Regions from separate parts of the Homo sapiens genome. Here region 1 is linked to region 2. Evidence: promoter capture Hi-C in human tissues and cell types (Jung and others, 2019). All regions are on one chromosome and are shown on one strand. The core of a region is centred on a gene start or on the middle of the fragment in contact, and the rest is flanking DNA. Distances in the headings are between cores, read along the strand shown. Region 1 holds the start of CRLF1 (cytokine receptor like factor 1). Region 2 has its middle 21 kb from the start of HOMER3.

Evidence for each region. The method cuts DNA at HindIII sites, captures the fragments that hold promoters and counts their contacts. A contact is called where the count stands out against the background at its distance.
Region 1: the fragment with the promoter of CRLF1 here is called in contact with a fragment that was not itself captured in region 2 in 2 of the 25 tissues and cell types used here (dorsolateral prefrontal cortex and lymphoblastoid cells).

Annotation. Positions count from the first base shown.
Region 1 is chr19:18,603,534-18,610,852 of GRCh38, forward strand. It overlaps CRLF1 (cytokine receptor like factor 1), which reads right to left and starts at 3,266. Exons shown (of 9, transcript NM_004750.5): 1 at 3,009-3,266. The coding sequence starts at 3,123. RefSeq lists an enhancer at 2,388-3,306. The HindIII fragment of the contact is 9,492 bases long and covers 717-7,319 here.
Region 2 is chr19:18,958,459-18,965,268 of GRCh38, forward strand. No RefSeq gene overlaps it. Among named protein-coding and RNA genes, the nearest start is that of HOMER3, 21 kb to the left of the region's middle. The HindIII fragment of the contact is 4,315 bases long and covers 1-4,122 here.

The DNA.
Region 1 (7,319 bases), core at 2,016-4,515, 350 kb before region 2:
TGCGTTAAAAGGACTCCCCAGGCGGCTGGAAGAAGGGACTGCAGGAGGCAGGGGCAGCCCAGCTTCGCAGAGATGGCAGCCAAGGACAGGGTGATCCTGGCCCCCAGGGAGGCCCCCTGAATGCCAGCGCTGCCCTGCACTTGCCCTCACTGCCCCAGATGGGCGAGGTGGGGTGGACACGGTTCTTGGGCCGGCCCTGATGATTTTCCGGGGCAAACTTGGCTCGAGGGCTCTGTCTCGCTGGAGCCTGGAATCGCAGTTGCGCTTGGGGCTTGGCCCAGGGCTCGCCGGAGGTCTCCGCGTCCGTGCGAAGGAGCCGGCTGAGCGGGCCAGAGCCGAGGAGGCGGGGGCGGCCGAGGGGGGCGGGGGGCTGGGGGCCAGGGGACCGCCCTGGAGGTCCCAGGCAGCCAGCCGCCCGCTAATTCGGAATTCCTTTTGCATGAACTCGGGTGTGCCAGCGTCTCTGCCCCGGCCCACCCACCGCTTCCTGCCTGGGCCCCCCCAACAGAGTGGGAGGCACGGCCAGGCCTGCCCAGACCCCAGGCCCCTCTCAGCCCTTCTAGAGTGGGTCTCACTCCTCCTGCCCCCACCACCCGCCAGCTTGGCCTGGGCAGGAAGGGGCTCTCTGGGGGGTCCTGGCTGGGGGGCGCTGCCCCTCTGCCACACCCGCCTGGCCTGGGCCGGCGTGGCTCACTTGCCAGCAGCTGCAGCTGCCCTCCCGGGGCTGGGCGGGGGACACCGGGCGGCGACGGGTTGTAGGGGGAAGGCAAGGCCAGGCGGGCCTGGACAGACCAATCTCCCACCCCCTTAGCCCCAGCCGGTAAGGTCAGAAGGACACTTTCTCCTCCCGGGATATGGGCGCAACACCAGTGGGAGAACCTGGCCAATTGACTTCCCCTCTCCAGTTCTCAATTTTCTCCTCCATAAAATGGGAGGAGAAATACGTTCTACTTGCTGGGGAGATCAATGAGATGTGATTGCAATCCAATGTCCAGAGGGCTCAGAAGCCTGAAGCCCCCAGGAGCTGCAAAGATGACAGCCCCTCCCAGCTCTGGGGTCCCGGCTGACTAGGCACTCCCTCCAGGCCTCCACAAACAATGGGCTAAGGCGCTGGGGACAGAGATGCACGCACTCCAGGCCAGGCAGGGGAGCAGCTGGGAACAGCCCACTGAGCCGGAGTTGGTGGGGGCTTGGCTTGGTTTGGAGGGCCTCCTAGGGCTCCCCAAAGCAGATCCCTAGGTTGGGCTTTTGAACAGCTCCCTTTTCACTCCCTGCCTCCCCTCCTTTCCCGCAGAGCTGGGGCCTTTAAAAGTTTTTTCTCTCCTCTTTTCCCAATCTGGAGCCACTGCCGTTATTAAAAAGGAACACCATGTGTTTTAAAAGGGAAAAGTGTGAGATTCTCTGCAAGCAGGGCGGAAGGGTGGCCTCCATCCCAGGGTCCCCACGGGGGTCCCCATCTCCCGTCCCGCTGGTACCTGCAGACACTTTACGACCCACCCGCCTGCTGGTCAGGTGCTAAGACACACCGTAAGTAGAAACATATTGCCGAGGTGTGAGAATCTTTTATTTAATTTCTTCCCCCCTTAAAGGAAAAAACACACTTACAGTGCCCCCCCACCCCCTACACCTTCGCCTGCTGCTCTACTGGCTGAAAACAAAGCTTGGCGCTCACAGTGGCACTCACAGGCGCTGCCCACCGCCTGGCAGAGCCGTCAGGGGCCCTGGGAGGGCCCGAGGTAGCCCCTCACCTGAAAGCCAGGGGAGAGCCAGGCTTTCAGCAAGTGCCCCTAGAAGATGCCCGGACCCTGCCCCTTCCCGGAGGAGCCCTACAGGCAGCCCGCAAACAGCCCAGCACAGGGTGGATGAGCCTGGGAGCAGTGTGTGCCCGGCGACCCCCGGGGTGGCCCGTGCGCCTGGATGGGGTGCGTGGAGTGACTGAACATCTGGGGCGAGTGGTGCCTGCCTCTGTGCCCCTGGGTCGCCTCCCCTGTGGGATGTGTGTGACCGTGAATGTGTGTGTCGGGGATGGAATGTGTGTGCGTCCGCGATGGTGCGCGAATGTGCACCTGGGATGCAGTGTGCGCGAGTTTGAGGGCGAGGGTGACGGGCCACAAGCCAGTGTGATTCTTTGTGTGTCTCTGGGTGTGTCCCAGAGCGGGTCTGCATACGGAGACGTATCCTTGCGGGGGTGTTCCTTGGATGGGGGGCCCCAGAGTGCCTGAGGCCAGAAGTCCCTCCAGGGCAGGGGTCTTGGCCCGTAGGGCAGCGGGTTCCCAGTGGGCCCCCTCAAAGTTTGGGCCCGCTGGTGCCCGGACTCACTGGCTCCCGCTCCCTCTCCCTCTCACCCACTCGCTCACAAAGATTCCTCTCGCTGGAGGCTCTCCGCCCGACGCAGCCTGGCTGAAAACGGTTCTAAGCGCCGCCGGTGGCGGGGACTCCGCGGACCCCCGTGCGCCGGGTCCCGCAGGGGGAGGGCGGTGGCGCCGGCCCGTGGAGACACAAGTCCCCCGGGACCCCGGGCTGCGCGCCAGGCGGCCAGAGCGGCCCCCCTGCAGCCCCGCCCTCCCCGTGGGGCTCATCCCTCCGCCTGGGGGGGCCCGCTGGGGGCCCGCACCCAGCGCGCCAACCGCGTGCGCCCCCGCCTGGGAGCGGTGCCCTGCAGTCCCAGGGGCCCAGAGTCCACCGAAGCAGACGCGTGCGCCCGCCACGTCCTGGCATGCAGAGGGTCTCAGGCCGCGATCCCCCCAGCCCCCGGGGGCCTGGCCTGGCGCCCTCGGCCCAGCTGCCCAGGTAACAGGGCCTCGGGCGCGGAAGCAGGACTCTCTGGACAGTGGACTGCGGCGCCGTGTGCCCCGCAGGTGAGGGCGCCCCGAGGGCTGCGCCGGGGGCGCCTTCCTTTGTTCCCCGGCCGTCCAGGTGGCGCCCGCGCCCCCTCCCCCCGCGGCTGCCCCCGGGGCGCCCGCCCTCTGCTCTGGCAGGGGGGAAGGAGTGGGGCGCCGGGTACTCACGGGCTCCTGATCCGGCTCGCGGCGCCCCGAGGACGCAGAGCAGCAGCAGCAGGGGCAGCAACGGCGGCGGCCGCCGCGCGGATTGGGCGGCGGGGCCCCGGCGGCCGGCGGGCATGGGGCCGGCGCTGCCGGGGGCGCGCGGCGGGCTGCGGCTCGGCGGCGGTGGCGCAGGGCGCGGGACGCAGGCCGGGCGCGGGAGGGCGCGGGCCAGGCCGCCCGCACGTCGCTGGGCGCGGACGCGGAGGCCGGAGCAAGTCTGAGCAGCCGAATTGACAAGGCGCTAATGCGCCGCTGGCCCCGCCCGGCCCCGCCCCCGGCCCGGCCCGGCCCCGGGGGGGCGGCGGGCCCCGCACCGGCCTCCCCGCCGCCCGCCCGCCCGCGGGCACCGCGCGCCCCGCCCGTCCCGCCTCCGCCCCACCGAGAACCGCGCGCGCCCTATCCCGCGGCCCAAAGCCCCCTAACTCAACCCCTACCGGCCCAGGACCTCCCTCTCCAACCCTGCCAGCTCCAGGCTTCCCACCCCCAGTCTGGGACCCGGCACCCCCAATCCCGTTTCCATAACCCTGCCCACTTCCCTGCACCCTCCTCTCAGCCCAGTGCCTCTTCAGTGGCCCCTTTGGTCCCCAACCCTGCCCCACTCCTCCATTCCCCCTTCCACGGCCCAATCTTCTGTCTCGGCCCCCACCCCAGCTCTGGCCCCGCCCCCCCCACCGAGCGGTCCTTGAGTCCCGCCTACCCCCATCTCCAGCCCCTCAGCCTTCCCAGGGGCCTAAAAGTCACCCCCAGCCCCACGCCCTCGGCGCGCGGGTTCCAGCCCTCCCACCTCATCCTGCCTCTTTTCGATTCTCCGCGAGTAGCCTCGGCCCCAGGCTTTGCTGGAAGAAAGGAGAAAAAGCAGGAAGGCACGGAGTCCCTCGCCTTCGCCCTGGCTGCGCTGTCCCCTTCGCGCGCGGGATGGGTTTGAGGTTGCTCTGGGCGCCCCGGGGGCCTCGGGAGGGAGCTCCTGCGTGGGCAGACGGGGAGATGTAGTCCCCTGTGGGAGCCGGGACCCAGGCCTGCGCGGGAACTGGGTCCCGCACCGCAGTAAGAGGGATTCCCAGGAGGAGAGCGGTAAGAAGCTCTTTCCCCGGGACCTATTCACACCCCGCCACGGAAAAATCCACTCAGCGGCCCGCGGGTGGGGTGCGCCACGCGGTGAGTAATCGCTTCGGCGGCCACCGCCCGCCGACTCCAGGTAACGCCGGCTGCCCGGAGCGACGCATAGTTTGTCTTCCTTCTTTTGCGCAAAGAGCCTTCTCCGTGTTATTATTTTTGGCCATTGCTCGAGTTTCGGGACCCCTCCCGGTCCGGGCGTCTCATCTCCCTCCTCCCGGTCCCCACCCGATGCGGGCGCCCAGGAATAAAGGGTTCCTGGCCTCCAAGGCTGCTGCGGATGGGGGTGCCTGAAATGAGAGTTGGGGGGTGCAATTACCCACTTTTGGTCGCAGCCCCGCCCCCAGCTGCAGCGCCCAGGGAAGGGAACGGCTCCAAGTCCCCTTTTCCAGGAGTCCCTTAGAGGCCTGGATTCTCTCTCCTGGTCCCCAACCAGCCAAGGGGGTAAAAGTGTCTGAGGGGGGCTCAGGAGCCCCCATTTGTCTGCCCAAGACTGAAGCCCCACCCTCTCCTACTTAAATCTCCAGTTCAGACTCCAGACTGTCAAAAAACAAGATTGGGGGATGGGAGCCTATAGGGGCCCAGGGCGCCCCTGCTCCATCTGAATTCTGGATGGAGAAGACAGACAAGGAGAGACGCTGCCATTTACTTCGGGAAACCAGGCCTTTTGTGCCTCAGTTTCTTCCTCTGCACAGTGGGCACCACCCAGTCTAGGAGCTTCTGTGGGAAGACGCAGGGCAGCAGAAGTCTCTACAATCCAAGCCCTTAGCACAGCACTGGAGGATATCCTGGAGCAGAGGTGACCCCCAGCCCTGCTTGTCCCCTCTGAAACATGGAGCCATAGTCCCACCTGCCAGGGGACCCAGAGGGTTAAGTGGAGGTGGCAGTCCTTGGCTGGAATTGAGTTTTTAGGATACTCACCACTACTCCCCCATGGCTCCTGTCTGCAGATGCTCTCTGTGTGGATAGAGACGCCTCACTCCCTCCTGGGAGGACTTCAGGCTTCTGGAGCAAAACCTTGATTTTTTCCTCCCTCCATTTCTGCTTCTCTTCCAGTCATTTTGGTTTTGGGAAAGGGCTCTCCCATCCATCCAGGTGCTCAGGCCAGAGACCTGGAAGCGCACGTGACAACTCTCTCCTTTGCTCATCCCTCATGTCCAATTCATCAGCAAATCCTGTTGGCTCTGATTCTAAAACACATCTCCATTCTGAGATGCTGACCCCTTTTTCCCACCCCATTCAGATCCAGGCCCCACGGTCTCCCTCAGGGATGCTTCCCGGCCTCCTCCAGGGCCTCCCTGATAACCCTTCTGCCTTTCTCGGCACACCAGGCAGAGGGAGCTTTTAAAAGAAGAAAAAGCAGATCTTTGTCCTGCCACCCTCTCGCCATCCTCTCCCCTCCTCTTCTTCCCTCTCCTCTTCCCCCTCCTCTCCCTCATTCCGCCCCAGCCACTGGAGCCCTGTTTCCCAAAACATACCAGGCTTGTTACTATAGAAGGGCCTCTGCGTGTTGGCTGTTCCCTCTGCTGGAATGCTGTTCCCCACATCTTCCCCAGTTGGCCCTTTCTCTTCCATCACTTCACAGGATTAGTGCCACCTCCTCAGAGAGGCCCTCCACCCTTCCCCCAGCACTCTCCCTCTCCTTCACTTTGTTTTATTGTTTTTGAAACACAACTCTTCCAACCATTTCATTTCTTGTGCAACTGATTTTCTTTAGACTGTGGGCAGCCTCAGCCCCTTTGGACCCCAGTGGTGGGCCCAGTGAGGGCTGAAAGCGAAGCACTCACTAAATATTTGTAAAAGTAAAGGATGGAGAACTCTTACTCCCTCCAAGTAGCAAGAAAACTCAGTCCTAGCAAGTCATGCTGCCTGGGGTCCTAGCCTGGCCCACACTCTGTGTCTTGCTGTGTGACCCTAGCCAGTAGACATCCCTCTCTTGTTCTTACCAACAGAAGGGAAGGACCATTTTCCAATCCTGCCCAGCCCCACCCTGGAGTGTGACTTCTGCCCTTGGGTGATCTTTACCCCACACCTTTGACTTCAGGGAAAGGGAATTGACCCCAGAGTGCATCCTTCCCGGCCCTTAGGGCCCCCAGAAGTTTAACCCTTTACTCCCCAGTTCCATTATCTCCTTGAGGACAAAAGGGAGCTAGCGTCAATGGAACTTCTGGCAAATATTGACCCAAGTCCTTGAAGTTGGCTGGGAATGTGTAAGGGGCAGAAGGAGGGAGGGCCTCCCCTTGGGCAGAGGGAGGGCCTCCCCTTGGGCTGGGGGAGGGACCCCTCCTTAGTCCTGCACCCTCCACTCCAAGGTCACCTCTGGATGAGAGGTATTAGGTTGGGGGGGGGGCCTCCATCCCCAGCTCCCTCGTGATTCCAGGGCACTGAGGGTGCACCAGGGAGGGGGCAGTGGAAATGGCACCTTCAGGGTCCTGTGGGGACCCACAACCACTGGGAGTGAGGAAGGCTGAGAGCTGTCTCTCCCATTCTGAAAGCCCCGTGCTCAGGGCTCCCCAGTATGGGATTAGCTACCTGGTGTTCCAGGCAGGTGCTTTCAGGAATTAAGGGGCAGTGAGGGTCTGGACACCTGGTTCAGGGTCTGTGGCACAGGAAAGTGGGGCCCGTGTGTACCTAGGCTTTATAATTTCTGCCCTGGAGGCTGAGCCTGGGGAGAAGCAATGCCTGGGTGCTCAGTGTAATGCACACTGGACTTCAGGCACTGGAGGCGGGACCTGGGGAGTTGCAGACCTGCCTAGGGGACCTGCCTGGGAAGTTGCAGGCCTGCCCCAGGGAGGCCAGTTTCCCTGCCCGTCTGTACCCTGAGAAGCCTCTGAAGTCTGGGTCCCAGGAGGCACCAGCTGCTTTAGGGGGACAGCCACATCCCTCCGTCCTCCCCCAACAACCCTCAGCAACCACCACCGGCGCCATGGTGCTCTGCCTCCTCCCTGGCCTGTACCCTGCTTGGAGGTGGGGGTCAGCAGGGTCGTGGTGAGGGCGGCAAGGGACAAAGGGTGCTTGTCCGCTGCCCGCCTTGACCTCGGCTGCTGTGGCTTCCCGGACGCCTGGCCTGCCGCTGATTCACGCCCAGGCCGGCCTCAGCGCCCCCCGCCTGCCGCCCCCAGCCAGGCCGCCCCGGGGGGTAGGAAGTGGGGGGGGGGG
Region 2 (6,810 bases), core at 715-3,214:
TCCCAGCACTTTGGGAGGCCCAGGATGGAGGATCGCTTGAGTCCAGGAGTTCGAGACCAGCCTGGGCAACACAGCAAGATCCTGTCTCTACCAAAAAAAAGTTTTTGTTTTTGTTTTTGTTTTTTTGAGACAGAGTCTCACTCTGTCATCTAGGCTGGAGTGCAATGGCACAATCTTGGTTTACTGCAACCTCCGTCTCCCAGGTTCAAGCGATTCTCTCGCCTCTGCCTTATGAGTAGCTGGGACTACAGGCACGCACGACCATGTCCGACTAATTTTTGTATTTTTAGTAGAGACGGGGTTTCACCATGTTGGCCAGGCTGGTCTTGAACTCCCGACCTCAGGTGATTTCGCCCACCTCCTTGGCCTCCCAAAGTGCTGGGATTGATTACACACGTTTCCAAACAGTGGATCCCACAAGAAAAGAAGGTGTCATCGTAGGTGACAGAATGGAGGTCCCTGTCTGAGGGAGGGACCGCTGAGCCTCAAGTGAGTAGGCTACAAGGCTGGCAGGGAGGTCACCCCATCCTATGGCCTAAGATTGTCCCCAAACATAAAGCTTGAACCCTGAGGCCCCTTGATTGGTTTCCTTGGTCCTTGGCCAGCATTTAAACTCTCCTTTTTTTAAATTTCTTGAGACAGTTTCTCACTCCGTCACCCAGGCTAGAGTGCAGGGCACAATCTCGGCTCACTGCAACCTCTGCCTGTTGGGTTCAAGTGATTCTCCTGTCTCAGCCCCCATGAGTAGCTGGGGCTACAGACATGCGCCACCATGCCCTGCTAATTTTTGTATTTTTAGTAGTAACAGGGTTTCACCATGTTGATCAGGCTGGTCTTGAACTCCTGACCTCAAGTGATCCACCTGCCTCGGCCTCTCAAAGGTGCTGGGATTACAAGGGTGAGCCACCGTGCCCAGCCTACACTCTCTTGACAAAGGTTTTTATAAATCCCAATTTGGCTGGGTGCCGTGGCTCATGCTTGTAATCCCAGTACTTTGGGAGGCTGGGGCCAGGGGATCACTTGAGCCCAGGAGATTGAGACCAGTCTGGGGCAACATGGCAAAACCCATCTCTACAAAAAATAAAATAAAATTAGCCAGGCATGGTGGTGCATGCCTGTGGTCCAAGCTTCTTAGGAGGCTGATGTGGGAGGATCGCTTGAGCCCAGGAATTAGAGGCTGCAGTGAGCCATGATTGTGCCACTGTACTCCAGCCTGGGTGACACAGTGAGACCCTGTCTCGGAAAATAAATAAATAAAAGACTGTCTGGGCCAGGTGCCGAGGCTCACGCCTGTAATCCCAGCACTTTGGGAGGCTGAGGCGGGCAGATTGCTTGAGCCTGGTAGTTTGAGACCAGACTGGCCATCATAGTGAAATCCCATCTCTACTAAAAATAAAAAAATTAGTTGGGTGTGGTGGCGCACACCGATAGTCCCAGCTACTTGGGAGACTAAGGTGGGAGAATCACTTGAGCCTGGGATCAAGGCTGCAGTGAGCCGTGATCAACCTCTGCACTCCAGCCTGTGTGACAGAGTGAGGCTCTGTTTCAAAACACCACCAATGACAAGAAAACCCATGACCGTCCGGGCGCGGTGGCTCGTGCCTGTAATCCCAGCACTTTGTGAGGCCGAGGTGGATGGATCCTGAGATCAGGGGTTTGAGACCAGCCTGGCCAACATGGTGAAACCCCATCACCACTAAAGATACAAAAAATTAGTCGGGCGTGGTGGCACGTACCTGAAATCCCAGCTACGTAGGAGGCTGAGGTAGGAGAATCGCTTGAACCCGGGAGGTGGAGGTTGCAGTGAGCCGAGATCGTGCCATTGCACTCTAGTCTGGGCAACAGAGCAAGACTCCGTCTCAAAAAAAAAAAAAAAAAGAAAATCCATGAGCACTCAGACCTGCAGCCAGTGAAGGCAAGGTAGAGATGGGACCCCACCCTTCAGCCTGTGTCTTACATTTTTAGGGGGCTAATTTAATTTAGAATGTCCAGCAGGGAAGTGTGTCTAGCTGTCCAGTGAGGGGAGCCTCAAGCTATCTTCCCACCTCAGCCTCCCAAACCACTGGGATTACAGGCATGAGTCACTGTACCTGGCCTGAAGGTCCCTTTTACAGATAAGAAAACTGAGGTTCAGGGCCGGCTTCTGCCCCTGCCCAACCTGCTGGCTTCTTCCTCAGCCAGCCCTCTCCAACTACTGCCTATTTCTTTTTTTCTTTCTTTCTCTTTTTTTGAGACGGAGTCTCGCTCTGTCAACAAGGCTGGAGTGCAATGGCATGATCTCGGCTTACTGCAACCTCTGCCTCCCAGGTTCAAGTGATTCTCCTGCCTCAGCCTCCTGAGTAGCTGGGATTACAGGCATGCACCACCATGCCCGCATAATTTTTTTTTTTTTTTTTTTTTGAGACGGAGTCTCGCTCTGTCTCCCAAGCTGGAGTGCAGTGGCGCGATCTCGGCTCACTGCAAGCTCCGCCTCCCGGGTTCACGCCATTCTCCTGCCTCAGCCTCCCGAGTAGCTGGGGCTACAGGCGCCCGCCACCACACCGGGCTAATTTTGTTTTTGTATTTTTAGTAGAGACGGGGTTTCACCGTGTTAGCCAGGATGGTCTTGATCTCCTGACCTCGTGATCCGCCCGCCTTGGCCTCCCAAAGTGCTGGGATTACAGGCGTGAGCCACAGCGCCCGGCTCTTTTTTTTTTTTTTTTTGAGACAGAGTCTCACTGTTGCCCAGGCTGGAGTGCAGTTGCGCCATCTCGGCTCACTGCAACCTCCGCCTCCTGAGTTCAAGCGATTCTCCTGCCTTGGCCTCCCTAGTAGGTGGGATTACAGGCGTGCACAACCATGCCCTGTTAATGTTTGTATTTTTAGTAGAGACGGGATTTCACCATGTTGGCCAGGCTGGTCTCGAACTCCTGACCTCAGGTGATCCACCCGCCTCAGCCTCCCAAAGTGTTGGAATTACAAGTGTGAGCCATCATGGCCAGCCACTACTGCCTATTTCTGCATCTCCTGTTCCAGACAAACGGAAGAAACAAGGCCATTTATTGAGCGCCGGTGATATGCTGAGCGCTCAACCTGCATCCTCAAAGATCGTCGATCCAACAGCCTGCTAGGAGTGGATCAATCGAGTCACAGAGGGGGCTCGACCCCCACTCACTGTAGAGAGGGGAAAGCTGAGGTTCAGAGGTGAAACGATACTCCCGGGGTCACACGGCAAGGACATGTAGGGGCAGGTTTTGGGACGAGGCTATTCCTGCATCCACGGTATAGAAAGAAGGCGGGGCGCAAAGGTCAGCCGGTGCTAGGGACCAGACAGCGGCCCATAGGGAGGAGTGGACTTGGGTCCAGGATGCGCCTGATGGGGCGGGGCTATCTTTATTGGGTGGGCAGTGCAGGACCAGGCTGCCCCATCAGGTGGAAGCGGGGCGAAGTGCACCTGTGCAGAGGGTTTGGGGGCGTGGCTAGAGGCTGAGATGCGCCGGGTGGGCTGGGGCTGGGGCTGGGGCTGGGCGGAGCGGGCGGCTCAGCACTGCAGCGGAAGAGCTTTCTTGCTACACGCAGTTGAGGCTAAGCTACCAGCAGGATGAAAGGATCCTGCTGTGGGTGATCGTGCACAAATAAGGCTGCGAGGTCACGTCGTCCATGCACTGAGAGAAACGAGAGGACCCCCGGCCTCAGCTCCTAGTCCAGCAAATGGAGGCACCATCCTTGACTCCTGTCTGTGCCTGTCTGCGCCTCAGCAAGCCTCAGTCTCCATATCTGTCGAATGGGCATGCCATCCCCGAGATGGAAGGGACCTTTTGTGCACCAGAGCTGGTCCCTTCCTTGTGCCCCCACAGCCTCAGAATAAAGCCAAACACCTCACCTGTCCACCCTCAACTCCCTCCACCATCCCCCTTATTCACTGTACTCCAGCCACAGGCTTCCCAGTTGGTCTTTGCACAGGGCAACAACATTACCGCCCCAGAGCCTTTGCATATGCTATCTGAGCCGCCTACTCTCAGTTCTTCCCTATGACTAACTGCTCCTTTAGGAGTCGACTAAATGCTACCATCCTGGCCAAAATAGCCTCCCCTCTCTGCAGTTTCAAATCCATGGAGGGAGTGGATTTTGGGCTAACTGGATACTACTACAAAAAATATACATATATATGCCCGGTGCAGTGGCTCACGCCTGTAATCCCAGCACTTTGGGAGGCCGAAGCAGGCGAATCACCTGAGGTCAGGAGTTCGAGACCCATCTGGCCAACATGGCAAAACCCCATCTCTACTAAAAATACAAATAAATTAGCCGGCTATGGTGGCACACGCCTGTAATCCCAGCTACTTGGGAGGCTGAGGCAGGGGAATCGCTTGAACCGGCGAGGCGGAGGTTGCAATGAGCCAAGATCGCGCCACTGCACTCTCTGGGGGATAGAGCGAGACTCTGTCTCCAAAAAAATAAAATAATAATTCCAAATGGACCTGAGATGTGAATATGCACCCTGCGAACACTAGAAGAGGCTATGTGCAGCCAGGTGTAGTGGCGCATGCCTGTAATCCTAGCATTTTGGGAGACTGAGGCAGGTGGATCACCTGAGGTCAGGAGTTCGAGACCAGCCTGGCCAACATGGTGAAACACTGTCTCTACTAAAAATACAAAAACTTAGCCGGTCATGATGGCAGGTGCCTGTAATCCCAGCTACTCCAGAGGCTGACCCAGAAGAATTGCTTGAACCCGGGAGGCAGAGGTTGCAGTGAGCCGAGGTCGTGCCACTGTACCCCAGCCTGGGCAACAAGAGCAAAACTCCGTCTCAAAAAAGAATAATAATAATAAGAGGGTATGTGTGCATTTCTGTAAGGTCTGGGAAGGGAAAGAGCTTTCATAATGATCAATCAGAGCCCAGGAGCAACAATGGGAAGGACGTGTGTATTCATACATGTATGTGTGTGTGTAAGAGTAAAATAGGCCGGGTGCGGTGGCTCATGCCTGTAATCCCAGCACTTTGGGAGGCCGAGGCAGGCAGATCACTTGAGGTCAGGAGTTCGAGACCAGCCTGGCCAACATGGTAAACCCTGTGTCTACTAAAAATACAAAAATTAGCCAGGCATGATGGTGCGTGCCTGTAATCCCAGGCACTCAGGAGGCTGAGGCATGAGAATCACTTGAACCCAGGAGGCGGAGGTTTCAGTGAGCCGAGATCACGCCATTGCACTCCAGCCTGGGGGTCACAGCGAGACTCTGTCTAAAATACAAAAAACAAAAAAAGAGTAAAATAAAACCTTTGGCCAGGCACAGTGGCTCATGCCTGAAATCCCAAAGCCTTTGAAGGCTGAGGCAAGAGGATCACTTGAGGCCAGGAGTTCGAGATGAACCTGGGCAATATAGCAAGACTCTGTCTCTACAAAAAATAAAAAATTAACTAGGCACATTGGTACGTGCCTGTAGTCCCAGCTATGCGTGAAGCTGAGGTAGGAGGATCACTTGAGCCCAGGAGTTTGAGGTTACAGTGAGCTGTGATTGTGCCACTGCAACTGCACTCCAGCCTGGGAGACAGAGTGAGAACCTGTCTCAAAATAATAATAATAGGCCAGGCCTGGTGGCTCACGACTGTAATCCCAGAACTTTGGGAGGTTGAGGTGGGCGGATCATGAGGTCAGGAGTTCAACACCAGCCTGGCAAACATGGTGAAACCCAGTCTCTACTGAAAATACAAAAATTAGCCAGGCGTGGTGGCGGGTGCCTGTAACCCCATCTACTGGGGAGGCTGAGGCAGGAGAATCGTTTGAACCCGGGAGGCAGAGGTTGCAGTGAGATGACATCACGCCATTGCACTTCAGCCTGGGCGATAAGAGCGAGACTCCGTCTCAAAAAACAAAAAACAACACCAAAACAACAAACAACAACAACAACAACAACAAAATAATAATAATAATAATAATGCATTGAACAATGATCATGAGTTTTAAAAAATGAAAAAAACCAAAACAAAACAATGAGCTGGGGCCAGGTGCTGTGGCTCATACCTATAATCCCAGCACTTTGGGAGGTTGTGGTCGTGATACAGGAGATAGAAATTATTTTGGCAGACAGTGAGGGTAAAAGAGTCCTGGGAATTTCTCTTTTAACAAAAAGCAGCCCCCCAAATCATTTCTTTCTTTTTTTAATTTTTATTTTTTGAGACGGAGTTTCGTTCTTGTCACCCAGGCTGTAGTGCAGTGGCACGATCTTGGCTCACTGCAACCTCTGCCTCCCTGGTTCAAGCAATTCTGTCTCAGCCTCCCGAGTAGCTGGGATTACAGGCGTGTGCCACCATGCCCGGCTAATTTTTGTATTTTTAGTAGAGACGGGGTTTCACCATGTTGGCCAGGCTGGTCTCAAACTACTGACTTCAGGCGATCCACCCACCTCGGCCTCCCAAAGTGCTGGGATTACAGGCGTGAGACACTGTGCCCGGCCTTCTTTTACGAGATGGAGTCTCACTCTGTCGCCCAGGCTGGAGTGGAGTGGTGCAATCTCGGCTCACTGATACCTCTGCCTCCCAGGTTCACGCTACTCTCCTGCCTCAGCCTCCCAAGTAGCTAGGATTACAGGCATGTGCCACCATGCCCAGCTAATTTTGGTATTTTTAGTAGAGATGGGGTTTCACTATGTTGGCCAGGCTGGTCTTCAACTCCTGACCTTGTGATTCACCCACCTCGGCCTCCCAAAGTTTTGGGATTACAGGCGTGAGCCACCGTGCCCAGCCGCAACTCATTTCTTTTTTCTTTTCTTTTTTTCTTTTTTTTTTGAGACAGAGTTTAGCTCTTTTTGCCCAGGCTGGATTGCAACGGC